2 separate regions of the Homo sapiens genome follow, and region 1 is linked to region 2. Evidence: promoter capture Hi-C in human tissues and cell types (Jung and others, 2019). All regions are on one chromosome and are shown on one strand. Each heading gives the region's core, a stretch centred on a gene start or on the middle of the fragment in contact. The rest is flanking DNA. Distances are from core to core; before and after follow the strand shown. Region 1 has its middle 18 kb from the start of PRSS23. Region 2 holds the start of SYTL2 (synaptotagmin like 2).

The links. The method cuts DNA at HindIII sites, captures the fragments that hold promoters and counts their contacts. A contact is called where the count stands out against the background at its distance.
Region 1: a contact is called between a fragment that was not itself captured here and the fragment with the promoter of SYTL2 in region 2, in 1 of the 25 tissues and cell types used here (hippocampus).

The regions. Positions count from the first base shown.
Region 1 is chr11:86,815,477-86,820,923 of GRCh38, reverse strand. It overlaps a transcript of PRSS23 not described here. Among named protein-coding and RNA genes, the nearest start is that of PRSS23, 18 kb to the right of the region's middle. RefSeq lists a silencer at 2,103-2,397. The HindIII fragment of the contact is 9,327 bases long and covers 1-5,447 here.
Region 2 is chr11:85,806,805-85,812,596 of GRCh38, reverse strand. It overlaps SYTL2 (synaptotagmin like 2), which reads left to right and starts at 1,456. Exons shown (of 20, transcript NM_206927.4): 1 at 1,456-1,643. RefSeq lists a silencer at 1,318-1,497. The HindIII fragment of the contact is 9,754 bases long and covers 1-5,792 here.

The DNA of each region.
Region 1 (5,447 bases), core at 713-3,212, 1.0 Mb before region 2:
TAGTACTATCTGTTTATAATGCCTGTTAATAAAAGAATTTACAGTTGGGTAAAATTGCTGCTAAACAATCATTGGATCACAATCCTCATCAAACATACCCATCTATAAAAAAAATTGAGCGAGAGCTTGAGGTTTCACACAAGCCCTTTACTAAAGAGGTAGAAATGTTTTTCTTTGTTTCACCCTGAGTTTAGATATCCTCAAAAATTCTATAGTACATAGATTTGTCTTACCTGTTAACTTTCCTCAAATGAGATAAAGTGTTTTAAAATTCTGTTTATAGTTTTTGATATGCATATATAATTATGTGTATATCTAAATACAAACGCAAATAAAGCGTTAGTAATACTTAAATAATTTTACTGTGCTACATAAAGTATAACATACTTGGAAAGGATTTACCTTTCTGCAACAATGGACTGGTACATACAGGATGATGATAATGATAAGGCACATAAATGATGTTCCCACTGGAAACCTGCCCTGTCCACTCCTCATTTCCCTTAACCTTATCCTCAAACTACTTTAGCTGAGAAGCTTTTCATGAGACTGTGAGTTAGTGGTGGCTTATACTTATTTATATTTGTATTAATTGCTTACAGATTATACCTCATATTAGCAATTACATTATACTACAAGAAAATGTATTTGCATAGGCTCTTGCTTATCTTTGTTTTGCAAAATTGTCCTTCTTAGAAAACAGTCCTTAAAATTTTGACTCTTCCTGTTAGTAATTAATCTTTCATTTAACCAGCTAGGCAGCATTAAATAAAATTGAAGAAATACTGTAGTATTTATTTTACACCCCCTCCCCACAAAGTTTATGTTTGAATTACATGCACGTGGGAGATTATTTGCAATAATTCATAGGTTCCAAGGGTGTTGATGAATAGTTATACATTTTTTGGACTTTGTTATAATTCATTGTGGTAAGACTGATTCAAATGCAGATTTATCAATCTTATAATCTATTGAATGCCATTTTTGATAAAGCACTGGAGGTCTTATTGCCAAACTGATTGTAATGAGGCACTAAGGATGAAAACATTGTACATGTTGTGAAGAAAGTACTTAAATGCAACTTTTGAACAGATTTAACAAACATGAGGAACTTTTTATATTTAAAAGAGTTATTGTGAAATGAAGATGAAAATGTATTCATCTTAATTGTTTTTTCAAATTTAAGGGAATAATTTATACCATATTTTGAGACAAGAATGTACAGCAAAAGTGTGGGGAACAGTAGTATACTGAGAGAGTGTCTATACACAGTGTATGCCTTTCCAAACCTGCCAGTCTTTTTGGCTTTGAACAGTGCCCACCAGCCACAGTCATTACTGTTCCCCAACCCCCACTATCTCTTAAGAAGCCTTATGTTCACAGTGAAAGGAATGCTGACTTTGAAATTATGGGTTTATATTCATGTCACTATAAACCAATGGGAATGGTAATTTTTAAACAAACTTGCTAAATATTGAGAGACTAAACTAAGTTAATAAATTATATATAGCAGTGTAGGTGTTCTCTCTCTAAAAAAAAATGGAGCCAATAATTGGCTTTTTTCTTATTGAAAAAAGTTTTGAATTAATAATGCATCTTGCACTGCGTTTCTTGGTTCTGGTCTAATTGGTGCAGATGGCCTGGACCCAGAGTTCTGCAGAGTGTCAGGTCTGTGATGCTGTCTGGGTCTCTCGCTGGCTTTCTACAGAAACTCAAAGGTTTTTCTCGCTATTTGGATGATGCTTAAGTGTCTAGGCCAGCGAGTCATAGCCTTAGCTACCCAAAAGGAGCCAAGAAGTCTGGGTCTGACTGAGGCCTATGGAGTGCTGACTTGTTATATGGGTGAGAGCATGGGACTCCCGCCCAGCAGCATTCAGCATTCCTAATTGGCATTTTCAAGACACAGCATTGCCTGTAAGTCATCCTGTGCCACCAGATTACCTGGCACCACTCCAGTAGGATGTTAACAGAGGGAAGAAAGTAAGGAGTTGGCAAAGTTAAAAACAGCACAAAGAAAAAAAGAGAACAAACTTGAAAGAAGGATTTCACCACCATCATTAATGGCATGTATTGATTAACACTAAGCGTTTGTGCCACTTTGCACGTTGCTCACCCTCATTCAAAGACACTGTCTTTGGAAGCCCCTCTCTGCAAATGGGAGAAGGTGTGGAAAAGATCAAACTAAAAACAAATTCAAAGAAACCACGAGTTGCCGATGAGCATCTGGGAAATAGTCATAAGTTAAATAAACCACTAGGGGGCAATCCAAGAATGAGCAAAAGTCAGTCCAGTTGGCAAAGAAGATGCCTCGGGGAAAGATTTTTTTTAAGTACATTTTCCAACACATGAAGAAATCTGAGATCGTTTAGTCTGAATCTACAGAACAAGGTGATATTTCAAAATTTTGATTTATTTTTTCAAGTTACGTGTTGATTTAGAAAGGAAAGGTCTTTCTAAATGGTCGGAAACACTTACTAAATACAAATTGATCAGAATCATGTTATAAGGAAAAACAATGGTTGAAACAATAGTGTGTCTTAAAAATTTAGATTCCCACCCCAGGCACTCGAGAAACTTCTGAATGTTGGCCATTCAAAATAGATTTCAATTAATGATACATATGATGTGGCACAGCATAAAGGAAATCTGAAAATATTTGGTTAGCATGTATAAATGAATCAAATCACACATGATTTGTTTTATACTTGTACTGATGATACAAAGTTTTTAGGTATGTAATACAGCTTTGCAGATATGTGCACATATTTTTTTCTGGTGTATCTTCTCTGCAGGTAATTTGGTATGTGCTAATCAGTTGCTAACAAGGATCAAATCAACGATTAAGCCTCTTCATCAAGGATCAAACAACTCTTGTTCTGAATTTGCCTTCCCTGAGGCTCCTGACTCCCAATCTGGAGGCATGGTTAGTTGCTCCACTCACGGTAGTCTTATGGCACCTTGCTATTAGTAGAATAAGAGCATGAACTCCCAAGGCAGACTGCTAAGATATGAATCCCATTTCTAGCTGTGTGTTTTTGGCAAGTTACCTTGCTTCAATTAGCCCCTCTCTGACATGGATACAAAATCAATGCCTACTTCATAGGTTTGTAGTGGGAAGTGAATTAATTAATATATGTAAATCATTCATAAAAGTGTCTGGCACATTACAGGTACTCAATACATGCTTGTTGGTTTCATAAATGAATGATCTGATACTTGCCTGAACACAACGTAAATTCATTACAAGAACAAATTCATGAAGAAACTGCAGGATTCTTGGATGGATTTTCACTGGCTATAAAAAGTCAACTGGCCAGTGGCAAACAGGAGAGCTGAATAGTGATACTCTTGAAAAGAAACTCTAATTGGTGTTCAGGTCCACCAGACAAGGCTCTTTGTCTTACTTCTAGAATACGGTGACAATCCATGAGCCAGAAATAGAGGTATTTCAATAAAAGTATAGAGTTTTGTCTCAAAAATGCCAGCCAGCCATTTAGAAAAGTTCTATCTGCAGTCACAGAATTGCTCACTTTGTTTTTTGTCTTTTCAACCATAGCTATCTAAAGAGTTTAAAAATAGCCACATCATTAACTTAATTCTCTGGACAGATTGACACATTTCAAAAGAAAGAGTTTTTAAAACAGTATCTAAAAGGAACACCATATAAAAAGTTATAGGAAGTTCCAGAGTCAGGAAAAACATGATCCAAAATATACTATACATGAAATAGAAAGCATGAGGGAAACAGAAGCCCACAGTTAGAAGGCAATAAAAAAAATCACAAAAAAAGGCTTTCTTGCCCCTCAAAAACCATATTTTCAAGCAAAAATAGGCCATTTGAAAAAATATAGAATGGAAATAAATCTGATCGCAACTATAAATGTCCAGAGTTTTAGACTCAAGCATGATCATGTTTTATTCTTTCACAAAAGTGGGTCTTATAAATAATTAGATTTTCAAGTTAAACTTTTTCTGCAGATGAATCTTCATAGGATTTTACAATTTTCAAGACCTCAGACAAAGTGAAGAGAATTTGGGACACTAAACAGCTTGAAGAACAAAACAAAGCATAAAGAGGCTGATCGGTAAAGATATAATGAAGGAATTGAATGAATTCTTCCTGATATTATGTTATACTCAACCAACACATCTTTTCTGTGAAAGTAGAAAGACAAAGTGGTGGCATTTCTATTCCAACGCTGTGTTCAGCTGGTCTGGAAATCATCCTGGAGTAGTAAAACCTGTCACTTTAAAAAAACAGTGTCCTTATGTCCCAGAATGCCTTATCCACAGAGGATATTAGTCATGCTGGGGGCTATGTTAGTTTACCAAACATGGCATTTTCCATCAGGGAACTGGGGGTGGAGCAAGTTTTAATAAATCCAAGAAAGGAAATGTAATAATCAGGCAGGACGGTAACTCAAAGACTTATTAAAATGTAGGGGAAGCACTCAACTCATTCAATTTACAAAGTGGCAATTCCATTGTACTGAGGCCAAGATATTTTGTGGAGAGGGTAGTTACTGAGCCTCATCACTCTGGGAGGTAGAGCAAGAGTCATGACTACAGTGACCTCAAAAGGAGAAGACGCATGAACACCCTGAGCACAGGGATGTATCTCAGTCATCTCTGCAGCCCCAGCGTGAACACAGTGACTGGCACCGAGGTGGGCTTGAGGACATTTGCTGAATGAATAACTGAATGATTGACTAATTGAAGAGATGGAGGAAGGGCAACCTAGCTGGAGGGTAGGAGAGCTTGAGCAATGACAGAAGGTTGAAAACACGGATGTGTTTGGTACAACTTGGCTAGACGACAGGTTATGTGACTCTGGGAAGCAATGGGGGATAAATCTGATCACTATATTGGATTGGTCATGGATTCATGGCTAAGAAAACTAAACTTCTCTAGTAACCAGCATCTAGTCAATAGGAAACATAGGGGAGGGGCCTGATCAGGTCTTTGCTTCAGAACATGTCTTGGGCAGGTGTGGGCGAGCTGGGAGGCTCAGAATCCAGTTTGGAATCTGCTGTCATAGTTAAAGGAGAAACAACAAGGTGAAATCAGGGCAGTGGCAGGGGAGCTGGAGAGGAGGTGATGGATAGCACAGAACTCTAGCTTGTTGCCTGTGAGATGTGGGAGAGGATCTATGTCATGACAGGCTAAGTCATGACAGACAGACAGACACTCACTTTCTCACAAATATTTCCTGTGCTAGACCATGGGATAGATAAGGGAAGACACAGAAGAACAGAACTCAGCCCCTGCTCTTGCAAGGCTCATAGTCTTGTAGAAGAGGCAGACACATAAATAACAACAGCAATGTAACACATGCTAGAATAGAACAGAATACATACAAAACACCACAAGAGTTTTATTCTGGGATGTGTTTGGACCCAAGAAATATCCAAGCTCACATAACCCTAAGTCATCATGTTCTGGGTTAT
Region 2 (5,792 bases), core at 207-2,706:
TTTATTGTCCCCCTCCTTCAGCGTAGTGACTCTACAACACTTTGTCAACCTATTATAACACTTACCCTAAAATGAAATTATTTACAAATTTGTTTCTTCAAAGGCAAGACCAGTGGCTTATTCCTCTTTTGCATGTGGCATGCTCACCCAGCACAGGGACACACCAGGCTCTCAAAGGCTGAAGGAAGCCAGAATACACATCTCTGCACAGTGCCAGGACTCTTGGGCCAGGCTAGCAGCCTGCACTGGGCACTAACTGAAGCCCTTGGGGATAAGTATTTGTAAGTTTGGGAGAAGGAAGACCTTTGGAAGAACCAAAGGCAGACCTGGGCCACCCTCAGTTAAATGGACAACACTAGTCCAGGAAATGATAAGGAAAAAGGCTTTAAGGTTCATCTCCTTCAGAGGTTTGCCTGGGCTGGCCCCATCATGGGTAACTTGTAAAAAATAGGTCGTGATACAATTTTTAAATTATTTTATTTATTTTTTTGAGACAGAGTCTTGCTCTGTCACCCAGGATGGGGTGCAGTGGTGCGATCTTGGCTCACGGCAGCCTCCACCTCTCGGGTTAAAGCGATTCTCCTGCCTCAGCTTCCTAAGTAGTTGGGACTACGGGCGCTCGCCACCACACCCAGCTAATTTTTCTTTTTTCTTTTCTAATTAGAACAGAGTTTTGCTATGTTGGCCGGGCTGGTCCCGAACTCCTGACCTCGGGTTATCCACCTGCCTCGGCCTCCCATAATGCTGGGATTACAGGTGTGAGCCACCGCGCCCGACCACAATATTGTATTTACTGTATTGCATTGTCTGCCTCCCTGCCACACAGCGTCTTCCAGGAGCTTACCAGTCCTCTGTGCATACCCCAGTAAGTAGCTCAGGCAGTGCATGACGCCCTCACCTTTCTCTAGGTATTATTGTATTTTAAAGCATCACTTCATTTAGTCCTCTCAACAACTTTTTTCCCCCCTTCTTCTATTTCACATGTGAGGAAATTGACGTCCCGAGGGTTAAAGCAAGTTACCCCATGACCGGGCTCCATACCCTCCGCGCCCCTTTCCCTGCGCGGTGGCTGTCCCTTCTCGGAGTGCAGAGGCTCCTAGTGCTCCACACTCTCGGGCTCCAAGGCCCCCTAACGCGCCGTGATAAAAATAATAATAACAATAACAACAGTGCTGCTTTATTTGCACAGAAAACAGGTTGTTTCGGGGCAAGGTACACTTGAGAAGGAGGCTAGGAACCGGAGAGAAGCAGCAGGCGGGGGCGGAGGGCGAAGGGAGGGAAGGGGAGAGGGCAGGGGCTGGCAGGCGCTGTGTGCCGGGCGAGGAGGCCGGGGCGGGCCGGGGCGGGGAGCGGGCGAAGCGCCATTGGCCCGAGCACCCGGGACCGGCCCCACCGCACCGCCCGCCGGGGGCGGGGGTAGCGGGGAGGGACTCGCGCACGCCGCTCTGCGTTGACAGTGCCGGGCGACACCCGGGCCGTGCCGCCAGCGTCCGTCGGGAGAGTGAAGGCTCGCAACGCCTTGCCCGGGGGAAGGTAACGCGCCGCGCCCGGGGCTGCGCGGTTTGCACCGCCAGGCCGAGGGCTGGGGGCCAGAAGACAAGAGAGACGGCGAGGCGCGCTCCCTGCCCGGCAGCGACTCGGAGGTGCGCACTCGGGTTCCAGTCTCTACTTGGCCCACTCGCTGTGTTACCTCGGGCAACTTTGTTTCCCTCTCTTGGTCTCTGCTTCCTCCTCTGTTAAGTGAGGGAGGTGGTGTAGAATGTTGTTCCTTAGTCTAACCAGTTCTAAAATGGGAACTGCGTTTTGGCACGGGGAAAGCTCCTTTCCTCAGTTTCCCACCTACTCCAGAGCCACCTCCGCTGCCCAGGCGGCCAGGAAGCTGGGATGCCCGGGTAGGCGAGGGTTCTGCTGAGCTATCGCGTTTTCTAGGGCTTTCAGGGACTGACCTGGGCTTGGGGCTGGGTGCTGGGGAGACCTGGCTGCAGAGTAACTGCCCCCAGATTGCTCAGGTGCAGAAAGGTAGGAGCGTCAGCACCTGTTTACAGGTGGGGTGTTGGGAAGGGCCGGCCAGGGGATGATGATTTCTCCTTTGAAAATAAGACGTGTTTTGGAATTCTCTTCCATACCCACACCTCGTCCCACGGCGAGCTATAAACTACACGAGTGGGCTTTATCATCCTTTGAAGTGGAAAAGCGACTGTTTTTAGCGTCTAAGACACAGGGCTCCACCAGCATATAGGAAGTGGGTCTCTCTTTCTCTGCACCCATCCTGCCGCGTCTTCCCTTTCTTTCCTCCTCTCTTTATAAATCCCCTTTGACCTTGAGGGGCTCCACTTCCTGCCTTAATGAAAAGTTCTTCTTTTCATTTAGTGCTGGTTTGTGACCAGCAGCCTCCAGGGCTTTGGGCGCAGGGTTGAGATAGAAGCCTAGATAAGAACAGGCTATGAATCACCCTGTCAGCCCCCTGAGCCACACAGCCCGGCAGGGATGTGCAGAGGAAGCCCGGTGGGGCTTCAGACAGATAGACCCTGGAAGGTGGGGTGGATGCAAACTGCCATCCAGCTTCCCGTCCCCTTGTTGGCAGCCATTCCCCACCAGGATGGTGACCCCTGCTGTCTGCTGGATGGAGCAGCCAGATAGAGTAGGATGATTGAAAGGAGCTGAGGACTTGGCTGGATTTCTATGGAAGGTCTCCAGCATTTCCCTTCCCTCACTTTCCTCCACCCCTGAAGTTCTGCCCCTTCTCACCCTTAGTGTGGTATCCAGGTGAAATCAGATTGCAGAACCCATCAAGAGCAGCTAGGAAGGAGAAGAGGTGTGGGGACGGCAGCAGGGCAATGTTGACTGCTGTTTAGTGGGCACTTACTATGGGCCAGACACTTCTTTGTATGTAATATATCCTTAATTCTCACAAAGCCACATGAGGGGTGATGTACTATACCCTATTTTATAGGTGAGAAACAGGCTCAGAAAGATTGCTTCCTTTAGTCACTTAGCTAGGAAGTAGCATAGCTGGAATTCAAATCCAATCTCTGATTCTAAAACCTGTGTTCTTTACACTGTCTTTGTGCTCCTTAAGTAAGAGCAAGCTGGAATAAGGAGAGCAAAAATGTCTAACATTGTGTTCTCACCAGGTGTCAGGCACTATGCAAAACATCTTAGAGCTATTATGTCATTTATGGTGCAGGAGTTTCCGTTATTCTGGAGGTAATCTGTGACTGCCTTAGCCTCTCAGCAGCAGTACTGTTCTAGAAGGCCTACCCTAATCCTGCCCAGCTGCTAGTGCGTGGGTGGGGCAGGGCCCTGTTTGCTTTATCCTAGAGGTGGTTTGGGGTCTAATGAAAGATTGATTGTCCACATCTGACCCGTTAGCCCTAACCGTTGGCTGGTGAATGATTCCACTGTCCCCTAAGAGGCCTTTTTCAGGTTTTGCTCAATAAACATTTGTGGAATGAATGAATTAGCACCTTGTGCAGAGTGGTCTGCTGCCTTGTAGAAATGTGAGGCAGCCTAGGGGAAGCCCAGGTTCCACCATCTTCAAAACCCAGATGCTAGTCTAGGTGTTTCTCCTCTTTGGGCAAGGGAGGTAGGGTGAACTGTGCCTGTATAGGCTTCCAGAGCTCCCTGGAAATATGTTTGCTTGTCACCTGTTTTACAAAGAATTTTTAAACATACAGTAGATGAAGAAAAATGTGGCTTTTTTTTTTTTTAAATTAAGAGGAAAACTTACTTGGTATTAATGAGGTTGTCACTCTCTCAAAAGTTGGGGGGATAAGATTATAATGTTTGTCTTAGGGCTTACCAAACTTTTCCATAGAAGATCCTGCAATGGAAAAGAAGACCAACACATGCTCCTGTGCTTATGCAATTTTTTTCATTTGATTTCATAATATATGGACTTTGATTTAAAAATATAAAGTTTTTTCTTCAAAATATCTGAATAAAACTGGTGTCCTGGCAGATTGTTATATATTCTTAGGGGCTTCGAGTACCCAGATGGAGAAGTAGGACCAAGGTTCTAGAGGGCTTAGACTACTGTTTGAATTTTCCACTCTCTGGTTCACAGTAATAGAGCTTCTCTAGTCCCTGGGGAGACATCCACTTTTTTCCCATTTTTCAGAATGAAGAATGTTTTAAAAATAAAAATATCCTTTATTTTCTTATTACCAAAACTAAACATATTCATTGTAGAAAAAAATATAAGATCCAGATTAACATTAATAATAATATCAGGCCGGGTGCAGTGGCTAATGCCTGGAATCCCAGCACTTTGGGAGGCCGAGGCAGGTGGATCACAAGGTCAGGAGTTCGAGACCAGCCTGGCCAATATAGTGAAACCCCATCTCTACTAAAAATACAAAACTTAGCTGCGCGTGGTGGCATGCGCCTGTAGTCCCAGCTGCTCAGGAGGCTAAGGCAGGAGAATCTCTTGAACCCGGGAGGCGGAGGTTGCAGTGAGCTGAGATCATGCCACTGTACTCCAGCCTGGGTGACAGAGCAAGACTCCATCTCAAATAATAATAATAATAATAATGATATAAATACATCTATACTCAAATAATTAAAGCAAAACTTGGGATATAGCGTTCCAAATCTTTTTCTTTGCATCTATATTAACAAATTTTAAAAACACACACACAAATACAGCCCTTTTGACTGAATTATTGTCAGAGCTAAGAGCCATCTCAGATTGTTTTTGACAGAATGTAGAGAAAAAATCATGAATAATTAAAAGCATCATGAAGGTTAATCTTGTTTGTGAGCCCCGAAGTTCACCCCTCATAATTTCCCTGTATTTATCTTGTGGGAGAGATGAGTGCTGGGCCATGGGGCTGCTGTTGAAAATGCAGGGTCAAGCTGTACTCTTGCTAAACATCTCAAATATAACAGAAAAGGTAGCTCTTTAGTGTTGCTGATGTGCAAAATTTGAGCAGAAAATTAAAAAACTAATTTGCACAGTAATTTGCAGAAAATTCAGGAGGGTCCTGGAGAAAGTCATTGCCCCAGCATTGCATTTTATTACCTGTGTGACCTTGGGCAAGACAGATGGCTTCTCTGAGCTGGTTTCCACTTTTATAAATTGATGATAATAAACAAATTCTATCCTCACTTACCAGAATCACTATAAGGATCAAGTGTCAGGTGTTATTGTTTGTTACTTGGATTGCATGCATGTGTGTATGCTATTAATATTTTAAAAATGTTTAAACATAGAGGCAATAAAACATTATCAGTCTTTATAAAATCCTGGAATCCAACTCTTGGTATTAGTAGGACTTAATCATGATGTAAATGCTCTATTGGGACTCAAGTTTTCTTCAAAGAATGTAGGTTTCCTTGGTGGCTAGTATCTCATTGATCCTCATCACAATCCTGAACAGAAGAGGACAGAAGATAGTCCCATTTTATAGAATGAAAGCAGGCTTGCCACTCAAGGGAATTGTTCAGTTACACAGGGAGTCTCAGAGCTCCTGGGAGCTGTCTTGACTTGCCCTAAGCAAGGCAGAGGCTTGCTAAGAGGAAGCAATGAGAGCCACTGGAAAGGCAGTGTACCCATGGGGGCATGTGAGTGCCAGTAGCCATTGCCTCAAGGACTGCTCTCAGGCATACGCCGTGCTCCTGGATGCTCTGAGGAAACAATGGGCCCTGCACTGGGAGGCAGGTGGCTTGGTTTCAACTTCTGCATCTGGCAAAGACAATCTGTGCAATCTGGGTTTAGTCACACTTTCTCCCTGAGCCTTGGTTTCCTTATAAAGTTAGAGAATTGGACCAGATGAGGGTCCTTCTTGTCT